Regions from separate parts of the Homo sapiens genome. Here region 2 is linked to region 1. The links are contacts of gene promoters, found by promoter capture Hi-C in human tissues and cell types (Jung and others, 2019). All regions are on one chromosome and are shown on one strand. The core of a region is centred on a gene start or on the middle of the fragment in contact, and the rest is flanking DNA. Distances in the headings are between cores, read along the strand shown. Region 1 holds the start of WIPI1 (WD repeat domain, phosphoinositide interacting 1). Region 2 holds the start of ABCA10 (ATP binding cassette subfamily A member 10).

Region 1 (6,720 bases), core at 1,533-4,032:
CATGCCTGTCATTTAGTCCCTCAAGACTCTACTGAGAATAAAGTAGCCACCAGCTACATGAACACTTAAAATGTGGCTCATGTGAACTGAGATATGGTGTAAGTGAAAAATACACACCGGATATTCAATATTTAGTTCTAAAAAAAAATTAAAATCTGAGGCCAGGCGTGGTGGCTCACGCCTGTAATCCCAGCACTTTGGGAGGCTGAGGCAGGTGGATCATGAGGTCAGGAGTGTGAGACCAGCCTGACCAACATGGTGAAATCCCGTCTGTATTAAAAATACAAAAATTAGCTGGGCATGGTGGCGGGGGCCTGAAGTCCCAGCTGCTTGGGAGGCTGAGGCAGGAGAATCGCTTGAACCCGGGATGGAGAGGTTGCAGTGAGCCTGGTGACAGAGCAAGACTCTGTCTCAAAAAAAAAAAAAATTAAAACCTGAATTAACTGATTAGTAACTTTATATTGATTATCTTTATATTGAAATGATATTTTTGACACATTGGATTAAATAAATGATATTATTCCAATTAATTTGCCTATTTCTACCTTTTTAAATGTATCTTCTAGAAAACTGAAATTTACAATGTGGAGTTCACATTTGGGGCTCATTTTATCTACTGGACAGCAATGCCTGAAAACAACTCTATGATTTGGTCTAATTTTCTGGCCTTGTTTTCATCACTTTAGCCTAGTCTCTCCTGTCCCTTTACTTCCAGAATTTCACATTAGTCCCCTAAAGACTTCTAGATCTTTTCCCACTTCTAATTTGTTCTGCACACCCTGGCCAAGTTTATCTGACAAAGACACTGCTTTTTTATCATGAAACACTCCTGCTCAAAAACTAACACCAGCTCCCAGGTCTATCCCATAAAGTCCAAACTCTTAATAACAAACTGATAATAACAGCTTACACTTTAAAAACTTTATGGTACACTTCATGTAATTCTCCAAACAACGTAGCACCTAGCATGCCAGATTCTAGGTTTTCTAACCAGGACAGAAATGACTGCAGCATTTGACAGAGCTGGAAGGTGGGGGGAAGCACCTTTGATCTGAAAGGTTACAAAAATGGCACAAAGTATCTAAACAGCAGTTCCATTCACTTCTGATAGTTTATACAACACCTCACAATCAGCCAAAGAGCAATAACATCTGTGAATCTATGAGCTGAACTATTTTTTACATCAGTGGAGAGAAAAAAATAATAAAGTTGAGAAAAGAAACTGTTACATTTGCATCTCAGAAAACACAAACCGGAAATCCAACCAGAAAGGTTTAGGTGAAATAGTGCCCTTTGTTCATCTATTGTAGGTCCAAGGTTAAATATATATATATATACACATACATAAAAGTAGCTTTGTCATAAACTGGGTATTAAAAGTGGGAAATGGGGAAAACCGCAATTACTTTTGCACCAACCTAATAAATTTGAATTATGCTGATTTGAGAGACTGTCATATAACAATAACTAAAATATCATCTCAAAATTTGAAAAAATGAATTAAAAATCCATCAGCAGTTATACAATCCAAAGCTGGCAGAGCTCCTGCTTCATAAACCGTATTGACAGTAATTCCGCATGGGAACATGTACAGTACTCAGCTTTTAAAAAGAGATTCTTTGTTAAGGTTTATCTCGAATTACGTGAGTTTTGAATTGTGCTATATCTTCAAGACGTTACCCCTTTCATAAACTACACTGCCCTACACACACTTTCATTTTTTTCAGCTGCGGATCGGATAGGTCTTGTTTAGATACTTTGTGCCATTTTTGTAACTTTTCAGATCAAAGGTGCTTCCCCCCACCTTCCAGCTCCGTCAAATGCTGCAGTCATTTCTGTCCTGGTTAGAAAACCTAGAATCTCGCATGCTAGGTGCTACGTTGTTTTTGCAAATTACTGTTTAGCAGTTATTTAGTGCACAGGTCTTGAAAGCAGACATGCAGACATTCTACCATTTACTGTTACTTTAGACAAATTGTTTAGCTTTGGAGCTTCAGTTGCCTCTTCTGTATATTGAGCACAATCGTATTTTCCACACAAGTTTTATAAGAATTCAAGATGACATACATAGTACGGCGCGCTTGGCAAGTAGTGAGGGTTCTCAACCGCTCGGCAATGGATAAGATAACTTGCTATCTCTCTGGCTGAGGCAGCCCCATTTCAGGAGCTTCTCTCAATGCGGCTTGAGGACTCGACAAAAGGGTGGGGCTTTGGAGTCTAACGCTCTCTGCTAAACTCTGTAAGTTTAATAGGCAGAGTTACACATGGCAAGGGGTCTGGGCGGGGTGGGAACTAGCGCGTCCTCCTGTCACCCTTGCGGCGGCCCCGACGCAGTTGCCGGACTGAAACCAGCAGATCTGGCCCCAGCCGCATTCCTTCTTCCCTCTCCCTCCCAGCTGGGCGGCTCCGGCAATGAAAACACCGCCACGTGGGCCTGCTGCCTTTGCGTCACGCGCCTTTGTCCAATGGAGAGCCGCGTTACGAAGCCAGGGGCGGGTCGCCAGCCGGGCGGGTCCGCCCACAGCTGCCACGGATTGGCCAAGGGGGGCGGTGCCCGCCAGCCGTGGCTTGGGCTCGTGGCCAATGGTGGCCGGAGGCAGGGGCCCCGCCCTATCAGGTGCTCTGGTCCTCGGGACCAGCTGGAGGGGCGAGAAGGGGCGGGGCGAAGCCGGGGACGCGGCGGGGACGGGGCGGGGTAGGGGCGGGGTGGGGACGGGGCGGGGTAGGGGCGGGGTGGGGACGGGGCGGGGTAGGGGCGGGGCAGGACCGGCGACCCGGCCCGTGGAGCCGGCGCGGGCGGGCTGCTGAGGTGGCTGTCGCCGGCTCCGAGCTGCGGCTTCCCGGGCCGAGCCCCCGATGGAGGCCGAGGCCGCGGACGCTCCCCCGGGCGGGGTTGAGTCGGCGCTCAGCTGCTTCTCTTTCAACCAGGACTGCACGTAAGCTGCGACTCGGCCCCTGCCAGGGAGGTGGGGGACAGAGTGTCAGGACCCAGGGGTGTCGTCCTGAGAGCAGCTTGTGGCTTCCGCCTCGAGGCGGCCTCGGCGGGAGGGCCGGTGTCTGCTTCGGACGCATTGGGATCTTGTTATCCCCGTACCCCTTCAGTGGGGTTTGCCGCACCCCCCACCCCACCCCACTCCCAGTGTCCTCCCAGAGCGACAAGGTTGGGCCAAGGGTGAAAGCAGGGAGTTCGCAAAGGGAGTGGTGGGGCTGCGGGGGCCACGGAATATGGGGGGAGCAGGGCGGTGGGAAAGCCAGTGACCAAAGTGGGTGTCTGGGGAAGAGAGACAGTGGCCAAAAGAAAGAGATGAGAAAGGAGAGGAAGTTGCAAGTTGACCCAGGACTCTGTAGTTGGGGCCCAGGAAGATGAGAGTACAGGAAAAACTTTCCCATTTGTCCTTGAGCATCTCAACGTGGCATCTGGGCAGGGCCTCGGACAAAGAGGCAGCCTATCCCTGCGGCCAGGCCAGCCCCTGTCCCATCCCCGACGCAGGGCATCGTGCCTGCCCGCTCTGGATGGAAGAAACCTTTGGATTTCTTTGGCTGTTTTCACATCGCCCACCCAGCCAGGCAGGATCTCCTTCTCGGAGTCCAAGACTCTTTTCCCGGGCGCAGACTGCTTTCTCTCCAGGAAACAGGAGCTCCACCCTGTTGTTTTTGAGTGGATTTTTAATGTTTTACTTCGATGTTCACATTTGGGCTTTGAGAGGGAGCTGGGCTGAAGTGTGTTTCAGGCATCTGCAGGATTCTGTGACTTACAGGCAAACGCCTGTTTCTTTCCCTATTTTCATGGAAGCGAGCCCTGGGGACCATATGGAATCATCTTTTTGGAATGTGCACCCTGAGCATCAGGCGGGGATGACCGATTCCCAGTTTCCCACTTCCTGCTGTACCAGTTTCTGTGCCTTGGCTGCTGGTGACTGAGCTACGCTAATATTGATCCTTCAGTGGTGTAATTAAGGCCATTATGTACCATTAGCCACCCTGGCTTCCATTCCCTTTATGTTTCTGTTTAAAAACACCCGGTGCTGAACAATATGCCTTTGTTTGAAAAACCCATATGTGTAATCATGTAATCGAGTAGCTCTACAGCTTGGTTATTTGAGTGACTTTCAAGTTTTTCTTGACCACAATCCACAATACGAAATATGTATTGCAACATCACCCAATACCCATAACACATACACTATTCACAAAATATCATGTGCAATTTTCTGTGTCCTTTTTTTCTAAGCTGCTTGTGACTCACTGAATTGCGTTTTAGGATCCACTCATGAGTTGAGACCTGCAGTTTATAAAAATGCTGGTATAGATAAAATCCTGATGTTCTGTAAGAAACATTTTGCAAGAGGGCATGGCTGTTGAAATGCCTGGGTGATGTTTTCCTTCCCAATTGAACACAAGTTAAGAAAGGGGGTTAGTTTGCTTGTAAGTAGTAAATGTTCTAAATTCTGCTTTGTAACATCATTAGATTTGACAAAAAAGGGTGTTAATTTATACTCTAGCCATTAAATAACGCAAAGTCCCAGCTTTCTACAGAAATTGAATAAGAATGTTATTTTCAAAACGGTAGGGTGCTTTGAAAGTTAATTTCCTTACTCCCTACTGTTAGTTTTATTTTCTTGGATGGAAGCTCTGCTGGGCAGCTTTGCCTTGCCTATAAATAAAAGTTCTTGTCACAGTCAGTTGCTTTGAGCCACAGAGGGTATGACATTGGATTTTAAAATAAGTCAAGCCCCTTACTGAATACATTTAGGTGTATTGCCATGTCTTTTTCTATAAATGTAGGCTGAATTTGGGATCCAGTATTTCCAAAGAAGGTAGGTGAAAACAGCAAACCCTTACCAGTCCCCTACGCTCATACTTCGTGATTGGTACTTGTGCTATACACTTTGGGTACTTTTTTTTTTTTTTTTTTTGAGACAGTCTTGCTCTGTCACCCAGGCTGGAGTGCAGTGGTGTGGTCTTGGCTCAGTGCAGCCTCTGCCTCCCAGGGTTCAAGCGATTCTCCTGTCTCAGCCTCTCAAGTAGCTAGGATTACAAACGTGTACCACCACACTCAGCTAATTTTTTGTATTTTTAGTAGAGACGGGGTTTTGCCACATTGCCCAGCTTGGTCTTGAACTCCTGACCTCAAGTGATCCACCCACCTCAGCCTCCCAAAATGCTGGGATTACAGATGTGACACACTATGCCCAGCCTACTTTGGGTACATTTTAAATTTGATTAATGATAAATATTTGTCCCAAGCTCTGTTTCCATGAGTGGTGATTAGAATTTTGTTTCTACAGAAAGACTTTATGGATGAAATAAGGTCTAAGTCTAAATTCCTTGATTCAGAGTCTTTTGTGGCCATTGATCAATCACGTAAAACATCACATAAAACATCACTCTGTGATTTTCTCATATGTAGAATTCTTCTGGTCCAGGAGCAGGGCTTATGTTTGAAAATTACTTTAAATTGCTGTCACTTTGCATTAATGTTATAAGACTCTAGTTACAGTATTTCTTTCCTTACTTGCAAACTTTACAAACCTCATTTCGCAGCCAAACACATCTATATTTATGTGAAAAAGTTTATGTGAAGAAAGTTTAAAAACAATAACACTACAAAATACATTTTGAAGTTTTAAGATGCTCTGGGCTTACTTTTCCAGTTGCTGTTTGTCATCATGAATACCTCAGTCTAGGTACTAAATGCCAGTTCTAAGTGCACAGCTGCAAATGTCTAACCCACCAGTTTAGCTACTTAGCAGGTTGGAGGGCTGCGAGACGTCACCAGCTACCTTGTGGATTAAAAGTTTACTGTAGTTGCCCTATCCCTGTGTCCCAGGGAAGAACAAATGTCTGGGTAGGGAAAAAAAATTCCAGGGAAAATCATGTGACCTTCTCTTTTTTAGGCTAGTGAAACAAGAGCCTTGGCCATCCAGGCTTGTAATAGTAAGTTGCTTATTTTAGTATATGCTTCCCTGTAAAGAGTGAATTTCACCTTGCCTTCCAGAGAAGCACACTTCTGTGAGTGTGCTCCGGGTCAGATTCTGTTCATCACTTAGGTGCGGAGGGCACAGCTGGAAAGAGCTGGGTGAGGATTCCCAGCTGCTGAACAAAGTTGACTTTGATGTTTACTTTCAACACAAGGCCAAGAAAATCTGGATTCACGTCCTGTCTTTATCTCCTCATTGAAAAATGAAAAATTAAGAGAACCAGATTTTTTTTAAGAGGCACTTTGATTGTCCTAGATAAATGTTTAGTTTGTATTTTGTTTGTTGGTTGTGATGATTGCTTTGTAGGATATAGTAGAAAGCAGAGTTCTCCAACTTGGGCTGCTCATTAGAATACTTGAACTTCAAATCCAATTAAACTTCCCAGCTGAGTTTAATATACATCCAGGTGTGAGAGCTACTAGTATGAAGTATCAGGACATTTTTCTGGAAACTGATGAAAGGAAGCATCTATTAAATTTTACCTACTAATGACCTACTATGCCTACTTTGAAAGTGTATTTCTTAGACCAGGCATGGTGGCTGATGCCTAAGCACTTTGGGAGGCCGAGGCAGGTGGATTACTTGAGGCCAGGAGTTCAAGACCAGCCTAGTCAACATGGTGAAACCCTGTCTCTACTAAAAATACAAAAATTAGCCTGGCGTGGTGGTGCATGCCTGTAATCCTCACTGCTCGGGAGGCTGAGGCAGGAGAATTGCTTGAACCCAGGAGGCGGAGGTT
Region 2 (6,818 bases), core at 1,849-4,348, 770 kb before region 1:
GAAGGATTCTGCAGTGGTGTTGAGTTTAGAAAAAATTGGCTGAGTTTCCTCTGGGAAATTAGAATGAAATAGAGGTATGTGGAGGAAAACTTCTGCCAAATTGCCTCTGATTGTTCATTAATATAGTACATTTACCTGCTGAAAGCCATCGTGCTTTCAGGGGTCAAGGACTCAAGAGTAAGGAAGAGTTTGATGAGGAGGTGCTAGTTGGTATTATGTAACGTGGATGTGCATAAGCCTAAATCTGGAGTATTTCAACATTCTGACTCTGTAGCAGAACTGTATAATTATAAATATGTAAAGGCTAAGAATGAAAAGGGTCCAAATCCTATTATAAATGTGTAACAGAGACCTGAGGATTTTATATGACCTCTCCAAGGGACACAGACAATGAGTGACAAGTCTGCAATGCAGGTCTCAGACTCCCAACTGTACCGTATTGGAGATTGAAATCCCTAAAATTATTGTCTTAGCTTGTTTTTTATTGCTATAACAGAACACCACAGATTTAGTTGTACCCAGCAGACTGGGTAATTTATAAAGAAAAGAAACTTATTTCTCACAGTTCTGGAAGCCGAGAAGTCCAAGAGCATGGCACTGATATCTGGTGAGGGTCATCCCACAGTGGAAAGGTGAAAGGTGGAAGCATGTGCATGAGACAGAGAGAGAGAGAATTGGGCCTAACTCATCCTTTTATCAGGAGCCCATTCCCAAGATAATAGTGTTAATCCATTTATGAGGGTGGAGCCCTCATGACCTAATCACCACTTCTAAAGGCTACACTTCTCAATGCTGTTTCATTGGTAATTAAATTTTAACATGAATTTTAGAGGAGACATTCAAATCACAGCAATTATGGAAATAAAAAATATTTTAAAAATTTGGTGATTAAGAAGGGTGTATGTCTGTATTATAGTATGATTTTAATTGTTTTCCCCACCCATTTAAGTGAATATTACCATTAATGTCTGGGATCGGAACCAGGTTAAGTTTCATGTTTTCTATTTCATGAACTTTTACTTCTAGTAATGATTTTGCCTGAATAGGAAGAGAAATGTCACTAACAACAAAGGAAAGCAATTAAAGTATGCTTCCTTTGTTGTTAGTGACATTTACAATTAAAGGAACCATTTATTTCCATATTCCTAATGAAAATGGTAATCATTTGAAGAGTCTCTGAGTCCTTTACCCTTTCTGTCTCTGTCACTTTCATGAATGGGCATTAGCTTCTGTATGCATACCAAGAAGTGTATTATTATAGTTAAAATCACATAAAAAGATTTTCAGGGTTGATAAAGAGGCATTATTTGCCATTCTGAGAATATCCAATTTAGTTGTAGCTGAAAAAAAAGTAACAAAATCATTAAAGTTATGCCATCTAGTCTATACCACTACACTTTTTAAATGGGTATCAGATATCATTGTCTTGATTAGCACCATTTTCATAGTGGTAGTTAAGAGTGAGGGATCTTGGAGTCCAGATACTATTCTGGACTCATCTGTTGGCTTCACACTTATTTAAACATCTGCAAATAACTTCACCTGTTAGCCCCACCTTTCAAATTTGTTTAATGGATGTGAGTAGAGTACCAACTTTGTAGGTTTGCTTTGAGTATCAAATGGGAGAATTCATTTAAACCCTTAGAACACTTTCTAGTACATAGGAATTAGTGAATACAAGGAACCATTTAACTGAAATGCAGTTAACTTTCAGATGAAACTTTCTCATTGGAATGATTCAGATTTCTGAGATGAGCAATCCTCATTTTCTCTCTCTCTGTTCAACTTTATCTTTAATTTGCTCCTTTTTTAGCTTGGCTGTCAAATTTTTAATTATTAAAAGTCATGCAATTGTAAATATGTAGTTATCCATGCAATTGTAAATATGTGGGTTTTTCTTTTTGAATTTGATCTCTTTTTTTGTGTGTATGCCAAAAAGAGCAATAAACAAATACCAATGATGCGCTCAGCCAACAATTCATTACACTCTCTGAAGAGTAACTGGACAAGGAGAAAAACATAGGGAAAAAACCAACAGAATTTGTTGGCATGTTCTACACACAGACCATGGCTTTTCAGAAGCCAAGCTGAATCAAAACAGTTTTAAAAGAGGCAACCATTTGTAGAGGAGTCCTTGAAGGATTCTTCATTGTTTTCTTGGACAAAAAGAGACCAGTGGATCCAAGTGCTTCAAATACTTCTCTCTTATTTTCTTAACTGTAAGTTAAAATTTGTTTTACATTTTCACTTTGCATAAGGTTTTAAAGATATAAAGTATATAGCCAAAGCCAAACATATTGATTGAAATTTTTAAAATTATATTATTCAGATGCTCTAAATTATTTTATGCTTTATGTTATAGTACTAGTGAGTTATTTTATTTTAAAAACTTATGTAACATTTTAGTGTGATAAATGAAAGATGGCTAGATTCAGAGGTGTATATAAATATTATCAGACAATAAATTCTCTCTCTGACACTGCTTTGAATATCCTTTTGAGAATTTGTATGGTTTTACTTCTTTAGAATGTGTGAGCATTAGGGCAAGTTCCTTTTTTCTGTGTTCTTTTGTTCTTTTAAAATGTTTTTGTGGTTTGCTTATGGAGCTGTTTAAGTAGACCTCTGTATCCATAAAGTGAAGATTGGTGTTTTAATGTTTCTACTTTCTTAAGTTAGAATTTAGAGATTATATTGGGTTTTGCTGGCTTTGCCTTTTATTTTATGAAAAAGGGGAAATATAGCAAGTTCTCTCTGAACATTGTAATTTGTATATAATATCAACATTTATTCAAATGGACTTCAGTAGTCATAGTTGTGACACCAAATGATCAGCTCTGGATTTTCAAATTGAAAACAAAGAATAAGGATCATTATTACAAATCAATTACTCTAGTCATATTAGCCAATATTTTTGGTTTTAATCTGTATGTATCTTACATATTTACTTCATAAATGGAGATTTAAAAAAGAGGAATTAGCTTTTTGGGATTCTAAGAATGGCCGTAATGTTTTCGACTTTGCTTTGCCCAGTGGTTAACAAGATATCAAATACATGTGCCCAGATGTGCAATTCAAAATAAGACAGCTTGTGGTCAAATTGCTGACTGACAAGGAACTGCAAAGTGGTTTCTTCCTGTTAAACTTCTTTTTCTTAACAAGTAAAGAGAAAGTGTTTTTTGGATTCTAAAAATTACTAAGATCTTATTGAGGGATTTACTTTAGGTGGATGTAATGTTAAGATTTCATGGAAAAAAAGTGACTTCTGAGACAAAAGGAGAAAGGTCTTATATACTATCTCCTTTATCTCCCTCATAGCCATAAAAGCCTGGAGAGAAATAACAACTGAGAAGACATTTTATAATTACTAATACTTTATATTCTTTTTTAAAATCCTGATTGAATATGTTGCTACAGTGTCATATAAGGCATTTAGTTGGCACATCTGAAAATTATGCTTTCAAAATGTTCAAAGGCTTTCTGTAACTGAACTTTTTTTTTTTCTTTTTTCCCCTAGCTATTGCTCTGCAATATTTACTTTACCCTGTTAATGAACAGGACAAAATGGTTAAAAAAGAGATAAGCGTGCGTCAACAAATTCAGGCTCTTCTGTACAAGAATTTTCTTAAAAAATGGAGAATAAAAAGAGAGTTTATTGGTATGATTCACTATATATATATATATATATCCATAATTAATAAATGAAAATCCACCATATAGTATTATGCCATTTTTATTACTTTTCTTGTTTATAAATTCTGATTTTTAATTATCATACTGGCTAGTTGATTTGAGATTCTAAATACTGCAAAACGATATATATTTTGCAAAATAGGATAATATTTGTGTCAAATGTGAAATTAACTAAAAAGCTCATCTGACAGCTCCTGAAAAATAATCTTTTGCAGAATAGAACCAGCCATTTTCCACATAATTAATGCATTCAAATCTCAGAGTCATTCTGATTTACTCTTAGCTAACTTCTGTGTTGGGGGCAGGGACAGCCAGGGGAAAGATAAGCTAGGCAAAATAAAATAGATTTTTACGTGGGCAAACCCTGATACTATTTGGGGACATTTCGATTAATGTCATGTTATTTGGTAAGGCTGGGAAAATATCTATGAGTAAAAATCTGCAAACTTTTTTGGAATCTCTTCAAAGCCGTGCTTTTTGTAAACATAGAATGGTTTCATGGAATAAGATCACAGATTGTCAATACCTTTGCATTCTGTTGAGTTTCTTGTATGCTGACATGAATATTAAGACATTGCTTTGTGTTACTATGAGATATAACTGGATCTGCCTTGACCATGTAGAGATTGCAGTCTGTTCAGAAATAGTCAGTACCATTTCAGTGGGAGCTAACAGGATTTATATCATCCTTTTAAATTTCTGCAATAGCTTCCGAAGCAGTTCGATCAAATATTTTGCTTCGTATATTGAAGAAGGATACATCTATATTTATTACTCACTAGAATTTAAAAAAAGTATGTCAATCCAGAAATGTGAAAATATTGGTACAATGAACACCTATACATCCACCATCCAGATTTGACAGCTGTTAACATCTTGCCATCTTTGCTTCATCTCTCTGTCTCCTCTTCTTCCCTAAAATATATGTAATGGCTAAATATTTTAGTATCTCAAAAAATTAAGAACTTGGTTCCCTACATTACCACTATCCCACTACACAAAATTAAAAATAATTCCATATCATCTAGTTCCATGGCCAAATTCAATTTTCCAAATTTCCCCCAAAATGTCTTTTAAGGTTGATTTGTTCAGGAACCAATGAGACAAAACTAGTTATCCTGTTGAATATTCCATGTTCTCTTTTTATCTGATTGCCTCTCCATGCTGTCATTTAAGTCATCCCTTTATCATCTATATTTTTTGTAAGCAGTGAGCTGGATCTAAAAGCAGGATCCAATTCTGGTTAAATATTTTTGGCAAGAGTATCTTCTGTGTGATGCCATATACTTACGTTGCTTCAAATATGAGGGCATAAAATCAATGGCAGTCCCACTAATAGGGGTGCTAAATCACTGGGTTAAGATTGATTGCAATTGTTGATATTATCTCAAAAGTTGTGTATTTTTGAAAGGGTGTTTTTTTCTTTAAAAGGTAGATATTAATTTGGGCAGAAAAAAATTACAGACTGAAATGAAGTCATGCTCAATGGCAATACATTCTGCCTTAAAAATGTGTTTGGATGTTTCTCACTGGTCTGGACCACGTTATAACATGGCTCATTTCTCTTTTGTGTGCTGGAGGAATGGACAATAACATTGTTTCTAGGGCTATATTTGTGCATCTTTTCGGAACACTTCAGAGCTACCCGTTTTCCTGAACAACCTCCTAAAGTCCTGGGAAGCGTGGATCAGTTTAATGACTCTGGCCTGGTAGTGGCATATACACCAGTCAGTAACATAACACAAAGGATAATGAATAAGATGGCCTTGGCTTCCTTTATGAAAGGTGTGTTGTCCAATAACCAATGTTTCAGTATTATGTGACTTAATTTTCAAGTTCTTTTTGCAGGTTGAATTTACTTACCTAGCCTGTGTGTCAGTGATTCTCAACTGAGGCAAAGATTCTCATTATATATGCAGTACAGGGGTTGGTGTGAAGCTAAGGGTAGGTGGGCAACAGATGAAATGATTTACTTTTGTTTGTTTGTTTGTTTTTAATGATATGCATACCGTTTGCCCTTTATACTAGAACATATTGTTGCAGTAGGAAAAAAAGATTGGACCCATTTTAGATGATACAAATTTCACTTTTCCAAAACTTAACTTAAAAAACTTTATATTTGGGTTGGTATTCTATAATTTAAAGAGTTTCAAAAAATTTTAAGGATTTAATTATTTTCAATTGAGATTGAAATAAATATAGTTCCCAGTATATAGGAATTATAAATCAAAGGTGTTTGAAATTCAAACTCAAGCTTAGCAATGGTGTTGAAAAAGCATTACTGTTTGGTGTATAAAAATAGTTAAAATGTACAGCTCAGGGCATTTAAAATTATTTAAAATCAAATCAGGTATTGGCTACTGAAAGTCAACAAATTCACAGCCCTTGATCTTAGAGTAGTGAGGCTTTTTTTTTTTTTTTCCCATAAGACTTTTTCTGCATATCTGGACTCAGAAAATAGATGTCTCTATGTTATGTAGGATGCTGCATTAATTTGATGTATGCATCTCATAAAGAAATAAGAACACCTGAGAGTCCTACTTACTATGTGAGACCTTTGCCTACCATCCTTTATATCTCTACTGCCATTAGGAGTAACTATTGGTGGTCAGCTGTGGTCTCTGGACTCTCCATAGAGGCCTTTGCTCCTGCATAGGGAAAGTATCAGGATAAAATGTTCTTTTCTTCAGCAATCTTAGCCTACTATCAAATTTCTCTTGTTGTTAGCCCTCATTCTGCCAGGGTTCTGAACATTGGCCATTTCATCCTTTTGTACATTTTATCCAATCTGTTAACGTCTCAGCTCTAATCACTGCTTTTTCTTGTCTTTCTGAAACTTTTATTTAGTTTTTTGGTGTCTGGATTGCCATGCCAAGGGACACCTCCAAACTCTGAATTTTAATTATTTTATGTGAGTTGCTAATATTCTGTGCCTAACCTATCCAAGCTTTCGAATGGGTATTGTTATCCCTGGCTGCTTTACCCTGTTTTGTAATTCTTCATTGCAGTTTCTGGAGCTTTGACTTTGGTGGGCCTCCCTTACTTGCATTGTTTACATGTTCTGCCTGACCACAGTGTTGATTCTGCCCTGATCTGTCTCTATTCACTTCCTTTGTGTAGTCATTTAC

What was found. Contacts are between HindIII fragments. The study calls those that stand out against the background at their distance.
Region 2: a fragment that was not itself captured here is called in contact with the fragment with the promoter of WIPI1 in region 1 in 1 of the 25 tissues and cell types used here (liver).

What each region holds. Positions count from the first base shown.
Region 1 is chr17:68,453,558-68,460,277 of GRCh38, reverse strand. WIPI1 (WD repeat domain, phosphoinositide interacting 1) reads left to right here and starts at 2,782. Exons shown (of 13, transcript NM_017983.7): 1 at 2,782-2,936. The coding sequence starts at 2,857. It also overlaps a transcript of PRKAR1A not described here. RefSeq lists silencers at 2,340-2,626, 2,363-3,042. The HindIII fragment of the contact is 15,120 bases long and covers 1-6,720 here.
Region 2 is chr17:69,223,982-69,230,799 of GRCh38, reverse strand. ABCA10 (ATP binding cassette subfamily A member 10) reads left to right here and starts at 1,976. Exons shown (of 39, transcript NM_001377321.1): 1 at 1,976-2,219; 2 at 3,515-3,655; 3 at 5,271-5,475. The coding sequence starts at 5,442. The HindIII fragment of the contact is 7,757 bases long and covers 1-6,818 here.